Regions from separate parts of the Homo sapiens genome. Here regions 1 and 2 are each linked to region 3. The links are contacts of gene promoters, found by promoter capture Hi-C in human tissues and cell types (Jung and others, 2019). All regions are on one chromosome and are shown on one strand. The core of a region is centred on a gene start or on the middle of the fragment in contact, and the rest is flanking DNA. Distances in the headings are between cores, read along the strand shown.

Region 1 (4,432 bases), core at 1,857-4,356, 53 kb before region 3:
ATAAATGTATTCACACACAGCATTGCACACATACTCAATGTATTAAAAAATGACAGAATATATATATATATATATATATATATATATATATATATATATATGCTATAGGAAACACCAGTGCATATGTTTACAGAATTAAACTTGCATATAGAAATGAAGATGCATATAAATGTGCATATAGAAATGATGTTGGGCATATGATAAAGCTGTACTAACCAAATAATATAACTGGAGGCAGAGAAAGAGGCCGGGACTCCCCTGGCTTGTCATGCTAACAGCATGGCTGAGTGGTGGGCTCAGTCATATTGAATTTTCTCCATCCAGAAGCCAAGCTACAGTAAAGGCAGCATGTGGTGAGTCGCAAGCACTTGTGAGCAGTGCCAGAGACAATGTGCAGGTGTGTAGTGAGGGACCAATGTCATCTGCTACAGGGAGAAGATAGGGACACTGAGTGAGCGAGAGAGAGAGCTGAGCAAGAGAGCACCAAGATGGTGATGGGGAACTGAAGAGTCTAGAATAAAGGTCTCACGCCTTTTAGAGAGCTGGGGAACAAGCTAAACAAAGGAGAGTAGCCACTCCCATCTCCCTACCCTGGGGAGACTGTACACGTGGAAATGCATGGCTTAAACTTAAGGAAAAAGACCATTGCATATTTTAATTTGGATTCAGAACATGTGCGCAACTAACTCAAGGGAAGACATTTCGATCAAATACTGTATATCCCTCTTTTTGGACTCTTAATAGTATAATATGATGATGCCGGTTTTGTCACTTAGGATTATATTCTGCTGCAAGTTACAGAGACACAGAAATATGGGCTAGCACAAGTAGTTTATTCTTTTCCACGACAAAGAAGCCAGAGGTAGAACAGTTCAAACTCAAAGTTCTAGAGGGGACAGAAAGGAATGTAAATGAAGGGACTGGGTGGGGTGGGAAGCAGAGGGCACAAGTCCCATGAAAAGGGTACATCAGTTCTCCATCTTTACACAGTTGATGCCATGGAGAAAGTCAGCTCCATGTTGCTTGAGCTATTGATTTTTTTTGAGACAGAGTCTTGCTCTGTCACTGAGGCTGGCGTCCAGTGGTGCAATCATGACTCACTGCAACCTCCACCTGCCGGTCTCAAGCTATTCTCCCACCTCACCCCCTGAGTAGCTCATACTACAGGCGTGTGCCACCCCACCCAGTTAATTTTTGTATCTTTTGTAGAGACAGGGTCTCACCATATTGCCCAAGTTTCTCTCAAACTCCTGGACTCAAGTGATCCACCCACCTCAGCCTCCCAAAGTGCTGGAACTACGGGTGTGAGCCACCGCACCTGGCCCAATTTTGTAAAGAAAAGTTTAAAACCTGGATTTTGTATGTGAAATTTGACTTCTAAATGTTACAACTAATTCAAAAATTTAAAAGCCCTCTGGACCAAGGGTAACCTATAAGTAGGACATATTTGATCCAGGGCTGCCAATATGAGATCCACTGCCAGTTCTTGTGACAGCTGATCTCATAAGAACTATAGAAATGCCTAGGTGTGCACACATGCGCATAGATCACTAGGCGAGTACATCAATGTTGTGGTTGAGTGTAGGGCATTCTTATGGGGCTATTTCCAAGTGGTGGGTGCATTCTCAATTCTGGGAATTCAACAGTGAACAATCATGTTAATTTGCGAGTTGAGTTGAAATCCTGTCCTCTGGGAGGTTTTAGGCTGTTTATCAGGTCAAAGAAGCAGAACCAGTATGAGTGATATAAGGGGTTTATGATAGGGCTGGGCCTTACGTGACTGTGCCGGTTGGTGGTGCTGCTTATGTAAGCATTGGATGCTGAACCTACATTCAGCAGGGCTGTGCCTTGGTAAGTGATTACGGACATGAAATGGGAGAGAGCAAGAACAACATGGAACCCATGAGGATGAGCTGGAACACACCAAGGAAAACTGGAAGCTGCCTTTGTCCCTCCCTGGGAACTGTCAGTCTCTCAGTGCCTCCAGACTTCTAATCTGAGTGATGCCGTGAGCTTTGGAAGGACCATGGAGCTGCACCCAAATCTGGCACAGACGTTAGAAAAAGTAAAAGAGGAGATCGGCAGGAGGTGGAGGAGCCCCAGCCCTGCCTGCTGTCTGCAATCTCCCAACAAGATGAGCCATCAAATCCATGACAATGAGTGTGAGATGCAGCAGAGCCTCAGCTCACATTGACCCCTGGAGCATAAACACAACTGCTGCTTCACACCCACTTTCCAAGGCTCACCCAAGTTGGTTGGCCCACTTTAACACAGAACACTGCAGGAAAGGGAATTTGGGGAAATGCTTTCAATTTAACTAAGATGACACAATGCAAGGCCACTGTGGCCAGGGAAGACACAGTGAACTAGGGAGTGGCAGTACAGTTGGTGGGAGTTCCAAACGGGGAAGGGAGGCACTGGTGGGTGCTTACCCAGCAGGAACAGTTACCATCTAGGGGCTCAGGCCAGAAGAAGTGATGGCCATGCTGAGTGGTGAAGGGGGGCTTCGTCAGGTGAGGTGAGTGTGGAAGGAGGAAAGAAAATAGTGTGTGGAAGTGACAGGGCAGGGAGGGGAGAGGAAGAAGGGGGAGGAAGAGGAAGAAGAAGGAGTACAAGGAGGAAGATGAGGAGGATGGAGAGGAGGGAAAGGGATAGAGAGGAGGAAGAAGAAGAAAGAAGGAGGAAGAAGGAGGAGGAGAATGAGAAGAAGAAGGAAGATGACAAGGAGAAGGAGGGGGAGGAGGGAGGAGGAAGGAGGGAGAGGCAGGTGAGATAAAGGAACGGAGCTAACGGAGTCGAAGAAAAATGCAAAGACAGTGTCAGAGGGAGGGACAGAGTGATTGGAGAGAAGTAAGGAATTTAAGAAGAGCCTATGTTTAGAAGACAGAATGGTGTGAGATGGGCTAGAGAAATAAGCAGGGAACAATGAAATATGAACACATGCCCACAGAGAACGAGATCAACGCCCTGACATTAACATATATAGACAATCCAGACTTGTATGCACTTAACAATTCATCGAGTCAACACACAATATGCATACACATCTATCCATACAGGGACACAAGAAACCACATATAATTAATTCCTCACTGATTCTCCCTGACTCCCTCCACACCCCAGGGAGGCAGCAGAAGGGGCTAATTCTGATCAGATCACCTGAGCAGGGCCTTGGAGGACATTCTCCAAGATCCCATGAAGCTTTGTCCCCATGCACTTCCTTGGTGGTGTGAACACTCAGCCGGCCACAGCTATCCCATGAGTAAGTAGCCCTATTAGATGTCTCATCTTGTTCAGGGGAGAAATATGACCACTTCTGTCATGAGGGCAAAGCCTGACTGTGCCACACCTGGGCTTGGCTTCTTAGGTCCTCCAGAGGAGACCTTGTTTCTGATGCATTTTACAAGCCGCTTCATAGTGTTACTAATGAATAGGACAGACCATAAAAGCAGGGAGGAAATGAGCCAGCATAACGTTCCCACTGTGAATTTTGGTGAGAAACCCAAAGAATCAACCAGTGGAAAGGACACAGAGCCGCGGTCTTGGGAAGTGTTGTTGAAGGCTGGGGTTTGAAGGCAGAAAAGAACAGAATGGACAACTAGGGACCTTCCAGCATGACTCAGCTGTCTGTGTGTCTGCGTGTGCCTGAGTGTGTGTCTATAAGAAGGAACCATGTGGATGCATATATAGGGGTGCCTGTCATATAAATATCTGGGTCTGAGTAAATGGGAGAAAGCATCATCTAAAACCCCAGGAGCAAACGCTAAGATTTGGTCAGGTTAGAGGAAAATATGTTTCCCCTCCTTCTCCACTTCTACTTCTTGAGAGTATTTTTAGGGGAGGAGGAAGTGCTGAAAAGCTTACTGTAAAGCAAATGAGAGGAAAACTGTTGATAACAAAGTTTCTGCTATTAGGTGGCACAAATGTAATTGAGGTTTTTGCCATTACTTTCAATAATTATTCGTGTCAAGATGTTCACCTGGGTTAGGTGCACCACCAAATCTTTTGAGTAATGCAAAGGAAGTTCCTGGAGTTTGTCTGTGATAGAGATTCACAAAATATTCATTTGCTTAATAAAATGAAAGAAAATTTTGCGGATGTCCCCAGGCCCTGGGAAGTTGGAGAAATACATGTATCAGAGAAGTAAAAGACTGTCTGAAAAATTCCCTGCAGGGTTTGGTTAAGGAGCTTTAAGGATAGAGGCGATGAGTATTACATTGTAGGTTGTTTCCTATTCTACACTGTGCTGTAATTCACTTCTGATGTTGCTAAACCTTCCGTAAAATTCTGTGTATTAGTTGAGGTAAAGGTTAAGCTGCTGTAACAAAGAATGCCAAAATACAGTGGATTACAGAAGACAGATATTTATTTCTCATTCATGAGATGGTCCTGAGGTGAACAGCCTAGGAGTATATTAGACTTTGCTCCACAC
Region 2 (4,107 bases), core at 70-2,569, 52 kb after region 3:
GAGAGGGTGGGATCCAGGCATTGGCATCTTTTAAAACTTCCCAAGTGATTGAAAAGGGCAGCCGAAGTAGACAAGCACCAGCATAGCACGTAGTATTATCAGAATGATGAGAGAGAAAATGTATTGAAAATCTTAGCACAGTGTCTGACACAGAGCAGGATTTGGGTAAATATTCCTCTCCTGCCTCCTCTTTCTCCTTCTCCCCCTTCTACCTTCTCCTTCTCCCTTTTTCTTCCTTTCTTTTCTTTTCTTTTTTTTTTTTGAGACAGACTTTCACTTTTGTCACCCAGGCTGGAGTGCAATGGTGCAATCTTGGCTCACTGCAACCTCCGTCTCCTGGGTTCAAGTGATTCTCCTGCCTCAGCCTCCCGAGTAGCTGGGATTACAGGTGCCCACCACCACACCTGGCTAATTTTTGTATTTTTAATAGAGACAAGGTTTCACTATGTTGGCCAGGGTGATCACTAACTCCTGACCTCAGGTGATCTGCCCACCTCGGCCCCCCAAAGTGCTAGGATTACAGGCGCGAGACATTGTACCTGGCTCCTCCTCCCTTTTCCTATAGATATTCTGCTTTATTTGGGAAAAGTGGGGCCAGGGCAATGACATTTTAAAATCTACCCTTGTGATGTGAACGGAGAGTCAAGTGTGAGATGCATTTCAGAAAGAAAAAAGCAGCTCCTCACATCTGGAAGCTGGAGGTCTCAGTGTCCCCATTGAACATCAACGATTCCAAACACCAATAAAGCCCCAGTTCTTTTTTTTAAATTTATTTATTATTATTATACTTTAAGTTTTAGGGTACATGTATACAATGTGCAGGTTAGTTACATATGTATACATGTGCCATGCTGGTGTGCTGCACCCACTAACTCATCATCTAGCATTAGGTATATCTCCCAATGCTATCCCTCCCCCGTCCCCCAACCCCACAACAGTCCCCAGAGTATGATGTTCCCCTTCCTGTGTCCATGTGTTCTCACTGTTCAGTTCCCACCTATGAGTGAGAATATGCGGTGTCTGGTTTTTTGTTCTTGCGATAGTTTACTGAGAATGATGATTTCCAATTTCATCCATGTCCCTACAAAGGACATGAACTCATCATTTTTTATGGCTGCATAGTATTCCATGGTGTATATGTGCCACATTTTCTTAATCCAGTCTATCATTGTTGGACATTTGGGTTGGTTCCAAGTCTTTGCTATTGTGAATAATGCCGCAATAAACATACGTGTGCATGTGTCTTTATAGCAGCATGATTTATAGTTAAAGCTCCAGTTCTTATTCTTGCTCTTCTCCTTCCCTTCCTCCTTCTTCTCATCAACAAGATGCCTTCTCAGGTTGGGACAACCAATGTATTAGCATAGAGAGAGTCCAGGTTAGGAGAAAACTGAGTTGAAAAGGCATTAGAGTGAACTTTCTACTTTGCACTGTTTGGGTTTACATAGTTTGCTTAGCTTCTCTGTGCTTAGAGTGGTCCCTTAGTGAAGTCTAGAGCCATGTTCCCTGATTTCAATCCTAACTGTCACTTAGTTGCTAAGAGACTAGTAAAGTCCTTAACCCCCCCATGCCTCAGTTTTCTCATATTTAAAATGGGGATAACAATAATGCCCACTTGTTACGGTTGTAGAGAGGATCCTGCAAGTGGATGTACAAAGAGCAGCTAGAGCTGGGGGCGGTGGCTCACACCTGTAATTCTAACACTTTGGGAGGCCGAGACGGTTGGATCACTTGAGGTCAGGAGTTTGAGACTAGCCTGGCCAACACGGTGAAACCCTGTCTCTACTACAGATACAGAAATTAGCCAGGTGTGGTGGCGGGCGCCTGTAGTCCCAGCTACTCTGGAGGCTGAGGCAGGAGAATCGCTTGAACCCAGGAGGTGGAGGTTGCAGTGAGCCAAGATCGCCCCCCTGCACTCCAGACTGGGCTATAGGGTGAGACTCTGTCTCAAAAAAAAAAAAAAAAAAAAAAAAAAAGCAGCTAGTATGGTGTTGTCATTCCTATAAGTGATGGCAGCAAGACCTTTTGGTCTCCAGCCCTTTCTCTTGTTTTTGTTTTTGTTTTTGTTTTGAGATGGAGTCTTGTTCTGTCACCCAGGCTGGAGTGCAATGGCGTGATCTTGGCTCACCACAACCACCATCTCCTGGGTTCAAGCGATTCTCCTGTCTCAGCCTCCAGAGTAGCTGGAATTAAAGGTGCCCACCACTACGCCCAGCTAATTTTTTGTATTTTTAGTAGAGACAGGGTTTCACCATATTGGCCAGGCTGGTCTTGAACTCCTGATCTCATAATTTGGCCACCTCGGCCTCCCAAAGTGCTAGCATTACAGGCGTGAGCCACCGCACCCAGGCTCTCCAGCCCTTTCTCTACAGGGAAGTGGTGCCAGCTGCTGAGTCTGAGGAAGGGGGCCAAACCCTGTGCTGGAAGTGTGGAGGCGAAGCTAGTGTTAACAGTGTCTTAGCCTGGGCTCGGCTGTGGCTGACAGAAGAGGATCCTGGGGCAAGGGGTTACCTGCTCTCACAGCTTGAGGGGCGGGACTCCGAGCTCTGGGACCGCGAGGGGCAGCGGTGATGGCGGTGGCGGTGAGACTTTCGGGGCCGGCTTCGAGATCTTGGGGGGATGAGAAGGAACGAGTCAGAGGAGAGGAGAGAGAGAGTAAAAAAGGGAGAGTGAGAGATTTGATCTTGTGACACCCGTTTTTCCTTTGCACTGGTCACCATCCCTCCCGAAGTTCTCCATCTCCCTCAACCCCATGCGTTAGTCCAGCTTCCTGCCTGGGTATTGGGTGGAGGGTTCCGTAACCAATGGTACTGAATACGGGTGAGCAGAAAGGGGTCCTCTGAAGGGAGTGTGGATGACTCAGGGCCCTCCCTGCTCCCCAGATGACACCCTAGGCAGAAAGTCACTTCCCCATGTCTCCTCTGCATCACTCAAGGCAGGCGCCTCAACGTCACAGAGCTTCAGGGGCCATTCAGGCAGCATAAATATGTGGATCAGCCCAGCACTAACATAATATCAACCGGAGGCCCGAGTTAAAACAGAAGGTGCTGCTTTGCCTCCAGAATATTTGTGTGGTGATCCTCTAATTTTTCAAGTGAGTGTGGAAATACAGATTTTTAGGTAAAATGTTCTTATTTTAAATGGAAGCTTATTTTTTTTTAAAGGCACCTTTTTGGGCAAATGAAACACATTTGCAGAGTAAATTAGGCCTTTGGGCTGCCAATTTACAACCTCAGACCTGGAAAATTAAGTCCAGGTTCTTAGCATGGAGTCAAAAACCTTTCAGGATGGGCTACAAACCTCATTAAAAACAAAAATTAGAACAACACCAATTACTACCACTACCACTAACAGTGGTGTTACTGCAGGTTACTTCAGCTACTTCTAAGTAGTAATAATTCAGAAATAGTAGTGGCAGCGGCAGTGGTAATTGAAGATATATAAAGGATGTCAATGGTTTGGGCCAAACGAGAAAGCCAGTGGGAGTTAGAGATGATTCTGTTGGGAGGTAACTTGGTTATCTCAACAAAGGACTCAGGGATTCTTCTAATGTAATCATCAGACCATATCCCTTCCCTGCTTAAAACTTTCCCATTGCTCTCATATCAAGTTCAAACTCTGATCCTGAACCTCAGGCAGCTTCAGGAGCTAGCCCTTGCCTAGTTCTCTGGCCTCACTGCTTGTCTTCTTCTGCCCTGGCCTGGTGGGCTAAAGCAGCTCTGAACTGTATGTATGCTGGCTCACACATTTCCCAGTTCATGATGTCTTAGGGATGATGATGATAACAATGGTGATGATGACAGGTAACCCACATCTAACACATACTTCATGCCAGGCACTGTATTCTAAGCACTTTTCTTAAAGGGATTCATCTATTCTTCATAATAACCTATGAAATAGATTCTCTTATTATTCCCATCTTACAGATGAAGAAACTGAGGCACAGAGAGTTTAAACCACCTGCTTAACTTGCAGCCTGGAATGGTTACTTCCCATCCTCACCTGCGGCTTAGATGCTGCCTCCTGCGGGAGGCCACCAAGCCCTTTTCCCAGTGCCTGTGTTCCCACAATGCCCAGGGTTTCGTCTGCTGTTCTGTGACCAGCCCT
Region 3 (4,278 bases), core at 160-2,659:
CTTGAACAAGTTACTTTAATCTCTCCGTGCCTCAGTTTCCTCATCTGAAAAAAGAAGATAAACAGTACCCACCTCCTCTGGTTGTGGTATTAGCTGAGATATTATAGGCAACAGCAGTTAGCAAAGTGCTGAGCGAATAGTTAGCACTCAGAGTTACCAGTTAGTGTTACTACAATTACTGGTAAGCCTCAGTTTCCCTGTCTGGGACAAGGAGAGGTGTTTCACCGGAAACCAGTTGCGGTTATTAACACTATCATTGTTCAGCCTTAACGTGCACTTCTAGACTCTGTTATGATGCTGGAGTGCACAAAATCCCGTTTCTTCTTTGTTTTTTAATTCTTTGATATCTGCTTAACCTATTCTTTATATTAAATGCCCTCTGTCAAAATATCCAACATGGTTTCTATTTTCCTGTCTGTACCATGATTGATGAGCACCCAGAGGCCCCAATAGCTGAGTCAGGCAGGTTAAGATCTCTGCTGGGAGCCGGGAGAGAAGTTTTCCGTAAAGATAACTTTGCAGGCTGCATTCCTGAGCCCTGAGGTCACCTGTGTCACACTGTCCCAACGTCAGCTCCCAGGAAACTTTCTCTGGCTATTCCCAGGGCTGAGGGCTACATCCCGGCCTCCCCATTCTCTCTCCCTCCTGCCCCTGACTTACCAGACACCTCCACGTATCCATCTTTGGTCTTCACCATCAACTCCTCTGGCTTGAAGCTGTGCACATTCACACACACTTTCCAGGGCTCCCCAGGGAAGGGTGGGGGGGTCCTGCCCTCGGCAGGCACCCCAAACCTGGCGGTGGCAGTGGGGCCCCGGGGCACCATGCCCGACCTTAGGGTGCCTGGCCAGGCGGAGGAGAGACGAGGCAGAGCCCAGTCGGGCCAAGAGGCTGTCAAGTCGTCTGGGAAGGGGTCCATGCCAAAGCCATCATCCAGCAGGCGAGAGGAGAGGGGAGAGTCCCGGAAGGGGTCTCGGCGCAGGCGGCTTGGGTAGTGGCAGGAGAAGGGCATCTGACCGTCAGCCATGGTGGCTGCTCAGCTCAGAGAGAAACAGAGGCTCAGAGAGACAGAACCACCTGCCCAAGGTCACACAACAAGGTGGTGTGGCTGGGCTAGCTTATTCTTCAGCTTCCGAAAATGCTGCTTTTCTGCAGGGAGAAGCAGAACCAACCACTGCCAGGGACGGTTGTGTCCCCTCGACTGGGGTCCCAGCCCCCAAAGGTAACCCCCGGGGCAGATCCAGCAGAATCCCAGAGGGTCCCCGTCCGCACTGCCTCACGACAGACCGGCAAGCCACCGTCCTCCCAGGCTTCCCAGGCTGCCCAGGCTGGCAGCCAGAACCGCTGAGGTCTAGAGCGGAGCCAGGAGCTTAATAAACCCAGGGCACGCGCGCCTAGAAACTTCTTCTGGCTCCTTCTGGGCTGCAAGCCTTCTATTTATTTGCTGCTGGAGGCTGGAGGCGGGTTTTGCAAGCGTCTCCTGTCACAGGAATATTCGGAGGTGATGAACCAGCCCCGGAGAATCCGCGGAGGGAACAGCTGGGCTGTGGGGGGAGCTGGGAGGGGCCGCGTCCAAGTTCAGCCGGCCTCTCCGGACACTCTCTCCTCCCCTGGCCACTCCGCTCAGCTCCGCCCTCCTCTTGCTCCAGGAGCTGGAGCCGCCCTCCCCGAGCGGGGCACTAAGGCCTGGCTATTAATAACCCCGAGCCTGGCTGAGGGCTCAGGTCACCCTCTGGAAATACCTTCCCTAGAGCGTGTCGTATCCTGCCTTTCCCCTGGGGACCTGCAGAAAGGGAAGAGAGAGACAGGAGCCCAGTGGATTTGAAGGATGGCCCTGGGTTGCAATCCCCACTTACAAGATGGCCAAGCTCCTAGAGCCTCAATGCCCTCTGGGGAGATTGGTAAAGGAAAAAAAAAATTTTTTTAATGTGTATATATATATTCATATGACGCTTGTTAAAGTATGACAAGCAAGACTTTACTGGGCAGGGAAACTTTCTCCATAGATGTAGGGACCCCTGCAATGGGATTTTGCAGTGAGGGAGAAAGATTAGACTTGATTCCCAGTAGGTCATGGGTAAGTGTGAATTTGTAGCCAAGAAGCAGGTGGGGGGTCAGCGAATGGAAATTTACTAGGAGGGAAGTCCAGGAGTCAGAGGGATTCGGGCTCAGCTAACCTAAGAGGATTCTTGCTGAAGACAGGCCAGGGTGCTCAGACATCACCTGGGGGACCGCGGAGGATGAGGAAACTAATCAGATATCGAGGGTGATCAGAAATCGAAGATGGGTGGTTGCTACTAAACAGACTTAGCAGAGTTCATGCCAAAACTGAATTTTTCTTTCTTTCTTTTCTTTTTTTTTTTTGAGACAGAGTCTCACTCTGTCCCCCAGGCTAGAGCGCAGTTGCGCCATCTCCGCTCACTGCAACCTCCGCCTTCCAGGTTCAAGCGATTCTTCTGCCTCAGACTCCCGAGTAGCTGGGATTATAGGCACCCGCCATCGTGCCCGGCTAATTTTTGTATTTTTTAGTAGAGTTGGATTTCACCATCTTGGCCAGGCTGGTCTTGAACTCCTGACCTCATGATCCACCTGCCTCCACCTCCCAAAGTGCTGGGATTACAGACGTGAGCCACCTCGCCTGGCCCAAAACTGAATTTTTATAAGGAACCTCACTGATGGGCTTAGGAGAAGATTCAGAAATCCGATTAATGTTTGGTCAATCAAAGCATCTTTATAGGCAGTAACATTATTCCCAGGCACCTCCAGGTTGTTAGTTTTCCTCCTTATAAACGGACATAACAGTAGCCAACTCACAGATGTACCATGAAGAATACATGAGGTAATTCTCTTTCTCCTTGTATTTTCAATTTTGAGTTATCAATTACATAATGTTTGCTATATGCCAGGCCCTGCTCTATGGGCTTTATAAATATGAATTCATTTAACCCTCACCAGCAATCCTGTGAGGTAAGAGTACCAGTATTATCCCATTTTACAGATGAGAAAACTACCATAGAAGTGTTCATGAATAGTAGCTTCTATTATTATTATGACTGTTAATACTGATAATTATTGAAAGATGTTACACTCAGGCAGGAGGTCTGGTCTGAAACTCAAAGCCCCAAATCTAGACTTTCCTGCTCTTCCCATGCAGCTGGAAGAATGAATTTACAAATCCTCCTTTGGCTTGGAGGCCTCTTCGGCTTGGGTTCTAATCTTTGATCTGTCCGCAACAGGCAGAAAATTTTAGGCATGTCGTTTTCCCTGTGTGGGCTTTCGGGTCTCAGCCCTGCCTTCTTCACGAGATGAGGGTAAACTGAGGATATTAAGGAATTCAGTGAGTCATAGGTTGAGAAATTGTTTTGATATTAAACAGTGAGTGCATGAGGCAGTTTGCTAAAAATAATAATACGGAGAAAAACAATCACTGTCGCCCATTGCCTCCTGTGCGTCTGCTTTTAGAGTTAGTACATTTCAGACATTACTGAGTTAAATCCTGACTCGATAGTTAAACGTCACTATTATCATCACCCCCATTTTGCAGGTGAAAAAACAGAGGCACAGAGGTTTGACCCTTGCACACAGATATGGAGTGGCAGAGCCTGGGTGGGAACCTGGGTTGTTCTGAATCCCGGATCTGTGCTTAACCGACAGACAGAGACCCCTGCCCTCCTCCCCAGCTGAGAAAGAATGGTGGGGACCCCACGGCATGACATGTCCCGAGTGACTGGGCCCCCACTGGATGTAGGGTGAGCTCATCAGGCTGGAAGCTTCGGGCTGACGTCATGGCTGGGCACAGAAGCTTCAGCTCTCTCTGTAATTACAGCTGGGCGGGGCTGGCTGAGTTGGAAACCAGTTGTGGGGAGAATCACTGCAAGCCGCATGACGCACCGGAGAAACCTGGCCCTGCCTGGGACCTGGGCAGGGGCTGGGGTGAGGTTTCTGAGTGGGTGGGACAGAGTGGAATGAGTTTGTGTGCGGATTTGAGTGGGTGCAGGAGTGAGTCTGTGTTTATGCGCCGATAGGTCTGTGTTTGTTTATCGCCGAGTCTGCTGGTGGGTATGTTCAGGAAGAAACTCCCCTCCTTTTCCCTTCCCAGGCCATCCCCAAACCTCCAGAGGACCCCTCTGCCTCAAATGAGGCTCAGTTGGGACCAGGGGACCTGGAAGGAGGGGAAGCCTGGCGAAGGAGCAGGGAACCGAGCTGTGATGACCTAATCCACCTTCTCATTTCAAGGATGAGGGGGACGAAAGGGAGGATGCAAAGGTAGAAAATAGA

Evidence for each region. Contacts are between HindIII fragments. The study calls those that stand out against the background at their distance.
Region 1: a contact is called between a fragment that was not itself captured here and the fragment with the promoter of HSPB8 in region 3, in 3 of the 25 tissues and cell types used here (H1 embryonic stem cells, bladder and hippocampus).
Region 2: a fragment that was not itself captured here is called in contact with the fragment with the promoter of HSPB8 in region 3 in 1 of the 25 tissues and cell types used here (H1 embryonic stem cells).

Annotation. Positions count from the first base shown.
Region 1 is chr12:119,230,197-119,234,628 of GRCh38, reverse strand. The region is part of intron 2 of LOC105370025 (a long non-coding RNA gene); the gene reads left to right. Among named protein-coding and RNA genes, the nearest start is that of HSPB8-AS1, 48 kb to the right of the region's middle. The HindIII fragment of the contact is 3,853 bases long and covers 1,180-4,432 here.
Region 2 is chr12:119,123,884-119,127,990 of GRCh38, reverse strand. SRRM4 (serine/arginine repetitive matrix 4) reads right to left here. Exons shown (of 13, transcript NM_194286.4): 7 at 2,512-2,610. LOC105370021 (a long non-coding RNA gene) reads left to right here and starts at 3,021. Exons shown (of 3, transcript XR_945429.3): 1 at 3,021-3,094. The HindIII fragment of the contact is 6,642 bases long and covers 1-4,107 here.
Region 3 is chr12:119,176,062-119,180,339 of GRCh38, reverse strand. HSPB8 (heat shock protein family B (small) member 8) reads right to left here and starts at 1,409. Exons shown (of 3, transcript NM_014365.3): 1 at 661-1,409. The coding sequence starts at 1,027. It overlaps LOC105370024 (a long non-coding RNA gene), which reads left to right and starts at 3,856. Exons shown (of 2, transcript NR_134996.1): 1 at 3,856-3,933. RefSeq lists enhancers at 1,057-1,806, 2,986-4,185. The HindIII fragment of the contact is 13,927 bases long and covers 1-4,278 here.